Linked DNA regions of Homo sapiens: region 1 is linked to region 2. The links are contacts of gene promoters, found by promoter capture Hi-C in blood cells and fetal thymus (Javierre and others, 2016). All regions are on one chromosome and are shown on one strand. Each heading gives the region's core, a stretch centred on a gene start or on the middle of the fragment in contact. The rest is flanking DNA. Distances are from core to core; before and after follow the strand shown.

What was found. Contacts are between HindIII fragments. The CHiCAGO score rates a contact against its expected background, and 5 or more counts as called.
Region 1: a contact is called between a fragment that was not itself captured here and the fragment with the promoter of ZNF618 in region 2, in 1 of 17 cell types (endothelial precursors). The highest score is 5.1, in endothelial precursors.

What each region holds. Positions count from the first base shown.
Region 1 is chr9:113,962,296-113,967,918 of GRCh38, reverse strand. The region is part of intron 1 of ZNF618 (zinc finger protein 618); the gene reads right to left. Among named protein-coding and RNA genes, the nearest start is that of ZNF618, 89 kb to the right of the region's middle. RefSeq lists enhancers at 2,386-3,763, 3,402-3,902. The HindIII fragment of the contact is 3,265 bases long and covers 1,550-4,814 here.
Region 2 is chr9:113,872,739-113,877,997 of GRCh38, reverse strand. ZNF618 (zinc finger protein 618) reads right to left here and starts at 1,689. Exons shown (of 15, transcript NM_001318042.2): 1 at 1,585-1,689. The coding sequence starts at 1,617. RefSeq lists enhancers at 3,265-3,765, 3,766-4,266. The HindIII fragment of the contact is 22,796 bases long and covers 1-5,259 here.

The DNA of each region.
Region 1 (5,623 bases), core at 1,933-4,432, 88 kb before region 2:
ATCTCCACCTTCTCTTATTAAACTGGATAACCCCATGATACCTAGTCCTACATGGTGACAGGCAGCTAGAGCTGACATACTTGGCTCTCCACAGCCTCCATCCTCCACTCTTGCCTTATAATCACCCAGCCCGTCTGGTCCCAGCGGGCATCCACACTTGCTCCCCAGGGAGAACTTCCCATTAGGCGCTAGGATGTGGACATTAATGCCTTCTCTCATTTAATCCTCACCATAGGTCCTCCCCCCTCCACCCCATAATATCCCCACTTTACAGGCAAGAACACAGGTCAAAGAATGTATTTATCAAAAGTCCCACAGCTATAAGCTCAGGTCTGGGTCACTCCAAAGTCCAACATCCTCAGTTCTGGAGCATTTTACTTCCCACCGACATTCAGGAGAGCCAATTGGGAAATGGGGTGACATCAAACAGCTCCTGTTTCCCACACAAGGGAAAGGGCAAGGTTAAGGACGAATAGGGAGGGAGAAATGTGAGGTCGGGGAGGAAGAAATTAATGAGCTGCCCATGTATTATTTCAACAGAAGAAACAAGAAAGCAGAAAATGGTTTGCATATCATTTCACTGGGAGCAAAAGAACAGATCAATTACAGCCTCTTTCCAACATCTTGCATTCCTCAAAACTTGTATGCAAAGCAAACAGGCTGAATTTGTTTGAATGTTTGTATCATAAGCAGCAGAAGTGGTACGGGTGGAAATTCTGCCCCAGAGATCTTAAAAAAATGGTTAACTCCCAAATGGATCTCTCGCCTTTCAGACTTAATTCTGTGCGTGTATTTTTAGCTTGTCACACACACTTTTAAAGTTGTCATTTTTGTCCTTTTCCTTCACAATTTCACACAGAGTTGACCAGCTCAAGTGCAGCAAACACGTGACAGAGTGTGGGATAAGAGTCTCTGTTTTCAGCATGCCTAATAATCTCCACCTTTGTTTCTCTTTTATTGAGTGAATGATACTTCAGCTTCGTGTTACTGGTAGCTGCATGCATTTCTGTTTTCCACCCATTTTCATAAAACAAAGAGAAAGTGCTAAAAATATTCAAAGAATTGTCAAATACTTTTGCAGAGACTCAGGTGGTGCTGCTGGGAAACTGGGGCAACTAGAGGAGAGTTCTACCTGGGCAGGGTGTGGGATGTTCAGATGGTGGCAGATGAGAGTTGCTTCATTGGAATATGGATGGACAATGGATTCAGTGGGAGATGTCCAAGACACATGTGTCAGTATCACAGCACCTGGCAATCACAGCGTGTGGGCCTGGCCGAGTCCAGCTACACCATGACGACAGAGCCAAAGTCCACTGTGTTGGGAACACCAACTCCCAGGGTGGAGTTCCATACACGCCAGGCCGGTGTGGTCTGTCCTTACAAATACATCACAGCCATTCCTTCCAAGTGGATTAAGCTGAACCTCTGACATTGCCATGTGCTGAGGCCAAAATGTTCTAACACCAGCAGTTTCATATGATTCAACCTAAACAGCAAACTCATCTGTACCCTGTGCAAACTGACCTGAGTCTCAATTTGAACCGAAGCTTAAGAGAACAGAGTTTAGAGTTAGAACATCGGAGTTCAAGGCCTGGTTTTGCCGTTTTCTAGCTCTGCGATCTTCAGCAAGTCACACGTATTTCCAAGGCCTCGATTTCTCCCTCTGCAAAATGGCAAGATGCTCATCACAGGACCTACTTCACGGGACTGGCTTGGGACTTGAGATAGCTTAAATAAGGTAAAACATGTAATAGCATGTAAAAGTACTTAGTGAGTGCTTGGCTATAATAATGAAAATAATCACTGACAACCCTATAGTTATAGAGGCCACTATTTATTGGGTCTAGGAAACTGAGGCACAGAAAAACAGAATGATATGTATAAGATGAACGAGTCGCAGAGCCAGCCTGGGGTGGACCATGGGTCTTCTGCCTCAAGGCCTTCCCCGAATCCCAAGCTGCAAGTCGGCATCTCATGAGTGGCCACCAGACCACACAGCCCGAAGGCCTTCTCCAACGGTGCAGCCAGAATGACAGTAATGTCACTAAAGTACTAAGCGCAGCCCTGGTATACATAGTCATTACTCAGGTAATGGAAACTCCCACTGCAGCTGCTGTTGTTCCACCATCTTCCGCCACTGGACTGTGTGCTCCTTAAGGATGTAGCTTGTTTCCCTGGCTCTGAGTCTCATTTTGAACCTCAGACAAGCTCGTTCCTTTCTCTGCACCTGAGATTCTCCATAGGTAAAAAATGGGGGCGGAGAAGGAGGTTAAATCAGGTCATCTCCCCCACTCCATGTGGAGTTGACCCAACCTTAAAACCAGACTCCTCTATGACAAATAAAATAAGGAGGACCCCAGTGAGATCCTCCTTCTCACTCTCGTAAAGCTGGGGTGAAGGTGTATCTAAGCCCTCCAGCCCCGAATAAGGGTGCCTGTCCCCTCTTCCCAGCCCCACCCATTCCTTATTCACCAGTTTCCCCTCAGGACCTGGGCAAGGCTATTTTTGGTTTCATTCGACCCTCCTCTTCCCTCCCAAATGAATGTGAAGTTGTTCTTTTCCATTCTCTTATTAAGGGTTTTCTTGGAAAGAAAATATTATTCCAAACCCAGAAATTTTATTTCTAAATTTGTGCAAATGTAAGTTGTAAGACATTAGCTGCATTTCACATTTTGTGCAAATGGCAGAAACAGGCAATTCGTGTGCTCCAGGATGGGGGCTGGCCAACGATTTCGATAAAATAAACCCTTTTTTAATTTAAATGCTAATGCACTGAATTAAAATTTAATAACTGAGGAAATTGAAAAGCCGAGCAGGAATATTGGAAATAAATCCAAGCAGAAACAGCTGAAATTAAAAATTCTAGAGAGTGGGAGGATAGCAGCTAAGCTGTCTTATATGATTACATTTTTTTTTTTTTCAGAATGAAGCAAAAAAAAAAAAAAATCCTATCTCTCGCTGGCTCTAGGGCAGTAAATCCACAGTGCTGTGATTTATTGCTCAATTTTCCTGAGGGAAAAAGGCTTTCTTTCATGCTGAAATATTTCATAAATTTCAAGCCAGCATAAATTCTTAATTTAAAAGTTATGGAGGTCACATTTAGTGCACTGGTACGGTTCCAAAATCTTAAAGGAATAGCAGCAACCAAAAAAAAAAAAAAAAAAAAAAGCAGAAAGGAGGGGTAGAATTTGCTCTTTTCTTTTTTTCCTTTTTTTCATTTTGGTTTTAATTCTCACAAGTTGAAATTTCATTATTAAAGATTCCTCCTGGATGGATAGAACCCAAGCACGTGGGGAACCGCTGTGTGTTTGGAAAAACCTGCTGCAAAAGATGAAGAGATAAAGATTTAATTCAATTATAAAATGGCATTTTTTTTTTTAAGCCACTTGAGGAATTTCTGGTAAAAATTTCCTCCCTTCATTGCCCGGGAAGCGGTGAGGGTGGGGGAGGGTGGCCAATGTAATTGCTTCTCTTAGATCTCCAATCTTTTGTGCTCACTGATATATTCATTTGTTATACAGCTGTTCAGCGGCGGAAAGAATGCTGGGGCGCCCATAATTCTAAGCAAATCAATCAAAAATTAATGATTTGTCATGCTTGCACAATGGAGGAAAAACAGCTCCTTAGGTCCTGGCTGCCTGATCTCGAAGAATGAAATGCCTTTCTTCGATAAGAGAACCGAGCCTGAGGCTCGGGGAGGCTGAGGTGCTGCCACAAATGTGGGGGCCTCACAGTCCCCCTAGCTCTGTGAGGTTAGAAGGGGGCCGCCATCTTGGAGGGGGCATTTCCAAGATGGCGCCTCAGCTAGCCAAGCTCAAGATGGACCTGGCGCAGCACATTTTCACAGTGCTATAATTAGGATTTTGCCTTTTCCTCCCCCACCGCAACTCAAAAATTACTTGGTCTCTAGAGAATTGAATGGCTCCCTCCTCCCCCAGCTAGATTTAATTTGTCCCTGTTCATTGTTTTCCCAACACTGCTGACACGCAGACATCAACCAACTCTACGGGACTGGGACTGGGGCTGCAGTTCCTGAAGCGTCTGTCACCCCCCAGGGTGTGTGCTGCCCCTCCTCCAAAGGCCACATCCCACACATGACCATGTCACCAGCACCCAGCTCAGGGCCTGGCACAGGGCAAATACTCGGCAAATATAGTTGAATCTGTTAATTATGATTGTTTCTCAAAAAAATACTGACAATGAGGTTGCTTAGATGAATGGTGCATTGGCAATCATGCTTGAATGAAATATATCAATTGACCTCAAATAATTAATCATTCCTTTATTCACTCAGCAGATAGTTCTTGGAAACCTACTATGTGGCAAGTACTCTGCTGGGCTCTGGGTGGATGACGTCAAATCCACTAGGGGACAATTTTGAATGCCCAGTGGTCAGTATTTTTCAGGCTTCTCTGCACCCTTATGGAAGGGAAGCATGAACATGAACCCAGAGAGAAATGGGAGTTTCTCTGCATGCTCAAATGCCCTTTGAAGTCTTGTAGCTTACTAATTCTTACCAATACATTTGAATATTACATTCAAACTACCAAATACATACGACACCATAATACATATTTCATATATTTTTATATGTTAGTACAAACATCAACATTGTTTTAAACGACCAGCTGGTACAATTAACCTTGCAGGAAGATATGTGACCTCGGCAGTGGGTGCAACCAAGTGCATTTAACCTGGAGGCCTGCAGGGGGCACTGCGCTTGCAAGAAGCACCCACCAACCCAGGACCTGCCCAGAGGATGATTCTATGTCCCCTAATATTTAGAGGACAGTTGGTCTGAAACAACTCAAGCTTTATTTATATATCTATTTCCTTTCCAAAAGCCAGTGAATCCCCAAAACTTAACATGTAACTTTCTGTCTCCTCCACTGAGGCACAAGACTCAAATAAGGAAAATTCACTCATTCATCCAACAAACATTTATCAAGCTCCTTCTACATGCCAGACATCATTTTAGGCAGTTGGGATATATCTATACCCTTGTGGCAATTACATTCAAGTGGGGGGAGACGCTAACATTAGGCGTAATAAATAAGTAAAACATATAGCATGCTTGAAAGTAATCAGTTCTATGGTGTGTGGGGGAGGCGGGGGAGTCATGAACAGGGAAGGATAGGGTGGTCAGGAATGCTGGGGACAAGGGAGGAGCCACAGGCTGCAATTTTAAGTAGGGTAGTTGGGTAGGCATCATTGGGTGAACACTGTAAGAGGGTGAGAGAGTTGGCCATGTGGTGTCTGGGGCAAAGTGGATGCCAGTGCAAATGACCCCAGGACAGGAGCATGCCTGGTGTGCTTGGCAAACAGCAAGAATGTCAGGATACCTGGGGCAGAGTACATGAGGACAAGAGGAGGAGAGATCATGGGAGGTCAGCTCATGCAGAGCCTTGCAGGCCACCGAAGAGCCTTGGCTTCTACTCTGGAAAGCCACTAGAAGGTTTTGGCAAAGTGACATACTTTGACTTACATTTTAGAAAGATCACTCTGGTTGCTGTGTTGAAAGGAGACCATGAGGCCAGGGGGGAAACAGAAGGCTGGCAGGGCTACGGAGCAGTCCAGGGAAAAGATGATGGTGGCAGGGACTGAAGAGGGTGAGGAAAGGTTG
Region 2 (5,259 bases), core at 440-2,939:
GGGAAAATTTTCTTCCTTACCAAGGATTCCTCAATCCTTGTCTTCATCAATTGATTCAGTTGCATGTCATAAAAAATGAGCTTCTGTGAATCCACTGTTAGTTTTTTCATAATAATGTTAATTATGCATATCTTATTTTAATGGCGGTCTCTCCTACAAATCTGTGGGCTACTCAATTTGTATAATGTATGAATTTACATTTTTTCCACTTAATATTGCTCAAAAAAGGTTCCTGACATTTTCTGGATAAAACAACAACAAAAAAGAAATGCCTAGACCTTTCAGGAAACAAAATCAGAAAACAGTCTTAATTATTCCATCAAAACAAAAAAAACACACACACACACAAAACCCAACAAATACAGAAAAAAAGAAAGAAAGGATTTCACTGTAACTTTTCTAGTTTCTGTTTTCTTTAGAATCTTAGGATTTAAATGCAGTAAAATGTAAATGCAAAATTAAAAAAAAAAAACTACAATTTTTGGGTGTGTCCAAAGCCAACATTTTAGGTTCTATTTTCTCTTTTAAATCCTTCGTTCGTGGAAATAGAAAAACTTTAAATATTGCCATATAGAGAAATTAGTCTTTTTTTGCCCGCTGAGCTAAACAAGTTCCAAATTACAATGAAGTACAATTTCTAATTGCTTCATAAAGCCAATTCTCTCAGTTTTCCCTAAACTCAACAATTTCCCTCCTTTCTTTATTCCAATTAGTTTTTTTCTCAAACTAAAATGAGTTGGGTACCCAAACTGACTTTGCTTTTAGGAGGTTTTTTGCTTTCTCCCCTCCAAGAACTAAATTCATTCAAATTCCAGCTTAATTTTCATTTACATATTATCTGGATTTGGCTTCAGAAATAAAAATTGTCTCCATGCTTCTGGAAAGATCAAAGTGAAAATTTTCACCCGAAAAAAGAAAAAAAAAGAATCTCTTACCCCTCCACTGCCTGGTAGTGCAAACTTTTGAAAAAATAAGAAATAAAAAATATTTCTTTTCAATTTTAATTTCTTTTTTATTTACAAAATAGTATCCTCTAGGTGGCGTCGTTTTAATGGGAAAAAACTACCGTTTGAAGAAAAATTAGAAAAAAAAAATTGAGAAAGGAAAATATGGCCTAAAAAAAAAGATTGTTGCAAAAATGGGGGACCTGGGGGGAAAGACCTCCCGGGGGGTCATCGGGGACCCCGAGCGCAGAGAGGGTCAGGGGAAAATTGCAAATTTGGGGGGGAGGGGGCAGAGCTGGAAGGGGTTGCATTTTTGCAAAATGTGAATTGTCCAAACTGAAATGGCTGCTCTGTTCTCTCGCCGCTTTGTTTTCTGGGCTCCGGTCCGAGCCCGGGGCCGGAGGGGGCGCTGGGTGGGGGCCCCAAAAGACCCCCTCGTCACCCCCACCCTCCTCGCACCCCGCAGCGCCCGGGGGGGTGCTCTCCGGACCCCGACCCTCCCGATTGCGCCCACAAAAAGCCCGCAAACGTGCCCAGGCACTTTGCATTTTGCAAATCTTGCAATGAAGTGGCGCAGCGCCCCGGGCCCCGGCCCCCCGGGGTCCCCCGCGCGGTGCATGCCCCCGGCCCCCCGTCGTACCTGCGGAGCCGCCGCGCCGCCCGGCTGGTTCATGGGTCCGTGCGGGAGGAGGCGGCCCCGGCGCGTCCTGCTCCTCCCGGGCCGGGCTGCTGGTGCGCGCACAATGCCGCCGCCGCCGCCGCCGCCGCCGCCGCCGCTCCCTCCTCCGCCCGCCCCGCTCAGGCCGGGGGGGCGGGGGCGCTGGGGGCGCGCGGGGGGGGCGCCGGCCCTCGCCCCCACCCCCGGCCCGCACCGGCCGCGCCGCGGCAGCCGCTGCCGCCGAGCCGCCCCTCGCGGGGCCGCCGCCGCCCCCCGCCGCCCTGCCCGCCCCCGGGCCGGCCTCGCCGTGCGGCCCGCGAGCTCGGGGCCTCGGCCTCGGCCTCCGCGCTGCCGGCCTCCGCGTGGCACACAAAGCCGGCCGGTCCAGGGGCGCGCCCGCCCTCCCGTCCGCCAGCCCCAGTGCCGCGGCACACCCGCCCCCCCAAACTTTCCCGCGCCGCGCCCTGCCCTCCCCGCGCCCCCCGCGCCCGCTCCCCGGCTCCCTTCTGCCCTCCCCCAGTCCCCCAGCCCCTCGGAAATGTCATTTTCACGCTGGAAAAAAAGTTCAGGGAGCCGGCTCTCGGCGGAACGCAAGAGGTTAATGGGAACTCTGTACCCCGCTGTACCCCCCCGCCAAAAAAAAACCAGATTGATTTTTGAAATAAAAGTTTTCAAGAGCTGGCTTGCTGGAAGACTGGAAGGCTTATTGGGAATATTCTATTGCCCTGCCACTCCTCCCAAAAAAACTAATGTAATAAAATAAAAGTTTGAAGGACTGGCCCCATGTCCGACAAGAGTGGTTAAGGGGACTCTAGCCCCCCAGCCAGACTGATTTTTAAAATAAATACTTGAGGAGCCGCTTTTATGTGAAATGCCAGTGAAGCGGCTGTTTCTGCCTATCCTTGCCAAATTAAAATATATATATGTATTTCTAAATAAAAGTTTGAAAAACTGGTCCTACAGTAAGACAAGAGGGGTTAAAGGTTAAGGGATATTAGCGCCCCCCACCCCCATATCCCCCAGTTAGGTTGATTTAGAGAAGGAAAATTTGAGAAACTTGCATGTGAAATAAAACGTGAACCAGGATATTTCTTTCCAACACCCCAAAATAGCCAGTTTTTTTGTTGTTGTTATTGTTGTTTTTTTTTTTTTAACTTGAGCAACTGCCTCCTTGTGACTTGGGAAAGTTTAAAAGGGATTTTTTTTTCTATTCTCTTCCCTATTCTCCTAAAAAATCCGATTTTTTAAAAATTGAAAGTATGAAGGACCTGCCCTATTATAGAGACAAGGAGGGATTACTGGATCCATCCTACATCTCCCACAACTGGTTGATTTTTGGAATAAAAATGTTAAGAATTGCTCTTCTATGAGATGCAAGGTGAACAGAAATCCTTCTTTGCCCCTCCCCAAAAGAAAACTGCAAGGGTACTTTTCAAAAATAAAAGCATTGGAAATTAAGAGTAACCAGGTATCTTCTCTCTGCCCCCACCTTCAAAAATCAAATGTTCTTTTTTGTAATGTTTAAAGAACTGGAGCAATATGAGACAGGAAAGGTTACAGAAATGTTTTCCCTACAATCCTCAAAAAAGTTATTTTTAAAATTTTAGGAAACGGAGGCACTGTGTAGAAGACACCTCCTTTCCCTAATAAGTTAAATTGGGAGTTTAGCCCTATATGGGAGACATGAAATTAAGAAACACAACTCTTGCCCCCCTTAACAAACACTCATAACACAAGACGTTAAAAGGAGTCTTCTGGCCGGGAGTGGTGGCTCACGCAAATAATCCTTTTGGGAGGCCAAGGCGGGTAGATCACGAGGTCAGGAATTGGAGACCAGCCTGGCCAACATAGTGAACCCCTTCTCCACTAAATATACAAAAATTAGCCAGGTGTGGTGGCACACACCAGCCAGTAGTCCCAGGTACTCAGGAGGCTGAGGCAGGAGAATTGCTTGAACCCGGGAGGCGGAGGTTGCAGTGAGCCGAGACCACGCCATTGCACTCCAGCCTGGGTGACAGAGTGGGACTCCGTCTCAAAAAAAAAAAAAAAAGAGGAGTCTTCTAACCACTTCCTCCCAGACCCCTAAAAGTTGGAGATTCCTTAAAAATTGAAATTGAAAGTGGCCATTTTTCTCCCCACCAACCTGGTAAGTATGTCCCTGCCAGAGGTTTGGCAGCCTCTGCCCAGGCTGGTGTGCAGCAGGCACCAAGGTGAGTAGGGGCAGCTTGCAGAGCATGGCAGAGTTGGGTCCTGTGAGCCCTGAGCATATGTGCTGGGCAGGCAGCCCCTAGTCCACCTGCCCCTCATCCACCAGGTGGTTGGGGCCTTGTTACCTGGAAAGATGCTCCCAGATTTGATGTCTGTCTGGCTCGATCCTTGTGTGAAGGTTTCTGGGCACCTGCCTCAAGGCCGGGTCCCCGCCTCTGCCTAGTAGAGCCAAGCCTGATCTTAGGCCTTAGAGTAGAAACTAGATCCAAAATGACATGGGGTCTCAGTCACCACAGCTGAAAGCTGTATGGTACCAAGGAAAAACTCCTGCCCTGGGAGTCGGGAAAACTTGATACGATAATTATTCATTTGAGCACTTACTATGTGCCAGGTGCCTTGTATCTAGTAGGACAGACACACACCATGAAGAGGAGAACTATTTGCAGCAGCTCTTCTCAAATGCAAGTGATCCTTGGAATCAGCAGGAGAGCCTATTCAGATTGCTGAGCCCACCCCAGAGTTTTGAATTCATTTGGTCTAGGTTAGGCACCAAGAGTTTGCATTTCTAATGCGTTTCCAGGTGATGCTGATGTTGCTGGTTTAAGGGCCACCTTCTTCAAACCTTTGCAGTACAGTGCCAACAGTGAGGTGCTCAGTGCAGCTCAAGGAAGGGTCCTACCCAGCCCGGGCGTGGGTCAGCGAAGATTCCAGGAGGGTCTTAATTAGATGGAAGTTTCTCTCTAGAGCAGGGATTCTTAAATGGGGACTTTGCATTGGTTTGGGGAACCAAGAACTACTCCTTAACCAAATGTATGTCTGTATGTGCATTTTGGGGGAGAAAATCTGTGGCTTTCACTCAAGAGCATCAGTGACCACCAACCTGAAATAATCCACAGCCTGTCTTCAGGCACCTCTGGCCTATAAAAGCTCATGGTCCTTCTCAGCCTTCTTTTTCTAGAATCACTGCAAGCCCTTTCCGTTTCTTCGCCACCCATGGGTCCCAGGAGCTGGGCCTTCTATCAGCACATCTCGACCATAGAGGCATCTCCTCCCCAGGGGTCTCGGCCTTGAAGAGTGCTTCCTTTCTTCATTCTGTATCAGATGGGCCATGAAGGGTATCCTCAGGGGACAATGGCTGAGCTTGAAGTCTTCCTGACAAAATCCAGCTTATAAATGAACCCACATATTTCCCAAACCACAGCAGAAACTATGCAATCACTCAGAGCTGTGGTTTGTCTCCATTCAGGAATTAACTGAGGGCATACTCACCTTGTGGAACTTTTGGAGTGTCCTGAGGACCTGCCCAAGAAAGTGGCTAGGTACTGTATGAGGTGGCTATGGTCCCATCAGGTGCACTGTGGTCATATCTTAGCCCCCTCACTTTCGAGAGCAATGACACTGTGACCAGTGTGGGGAAGCCAAGAGAAGGGGAGGACCCCTACAAACACC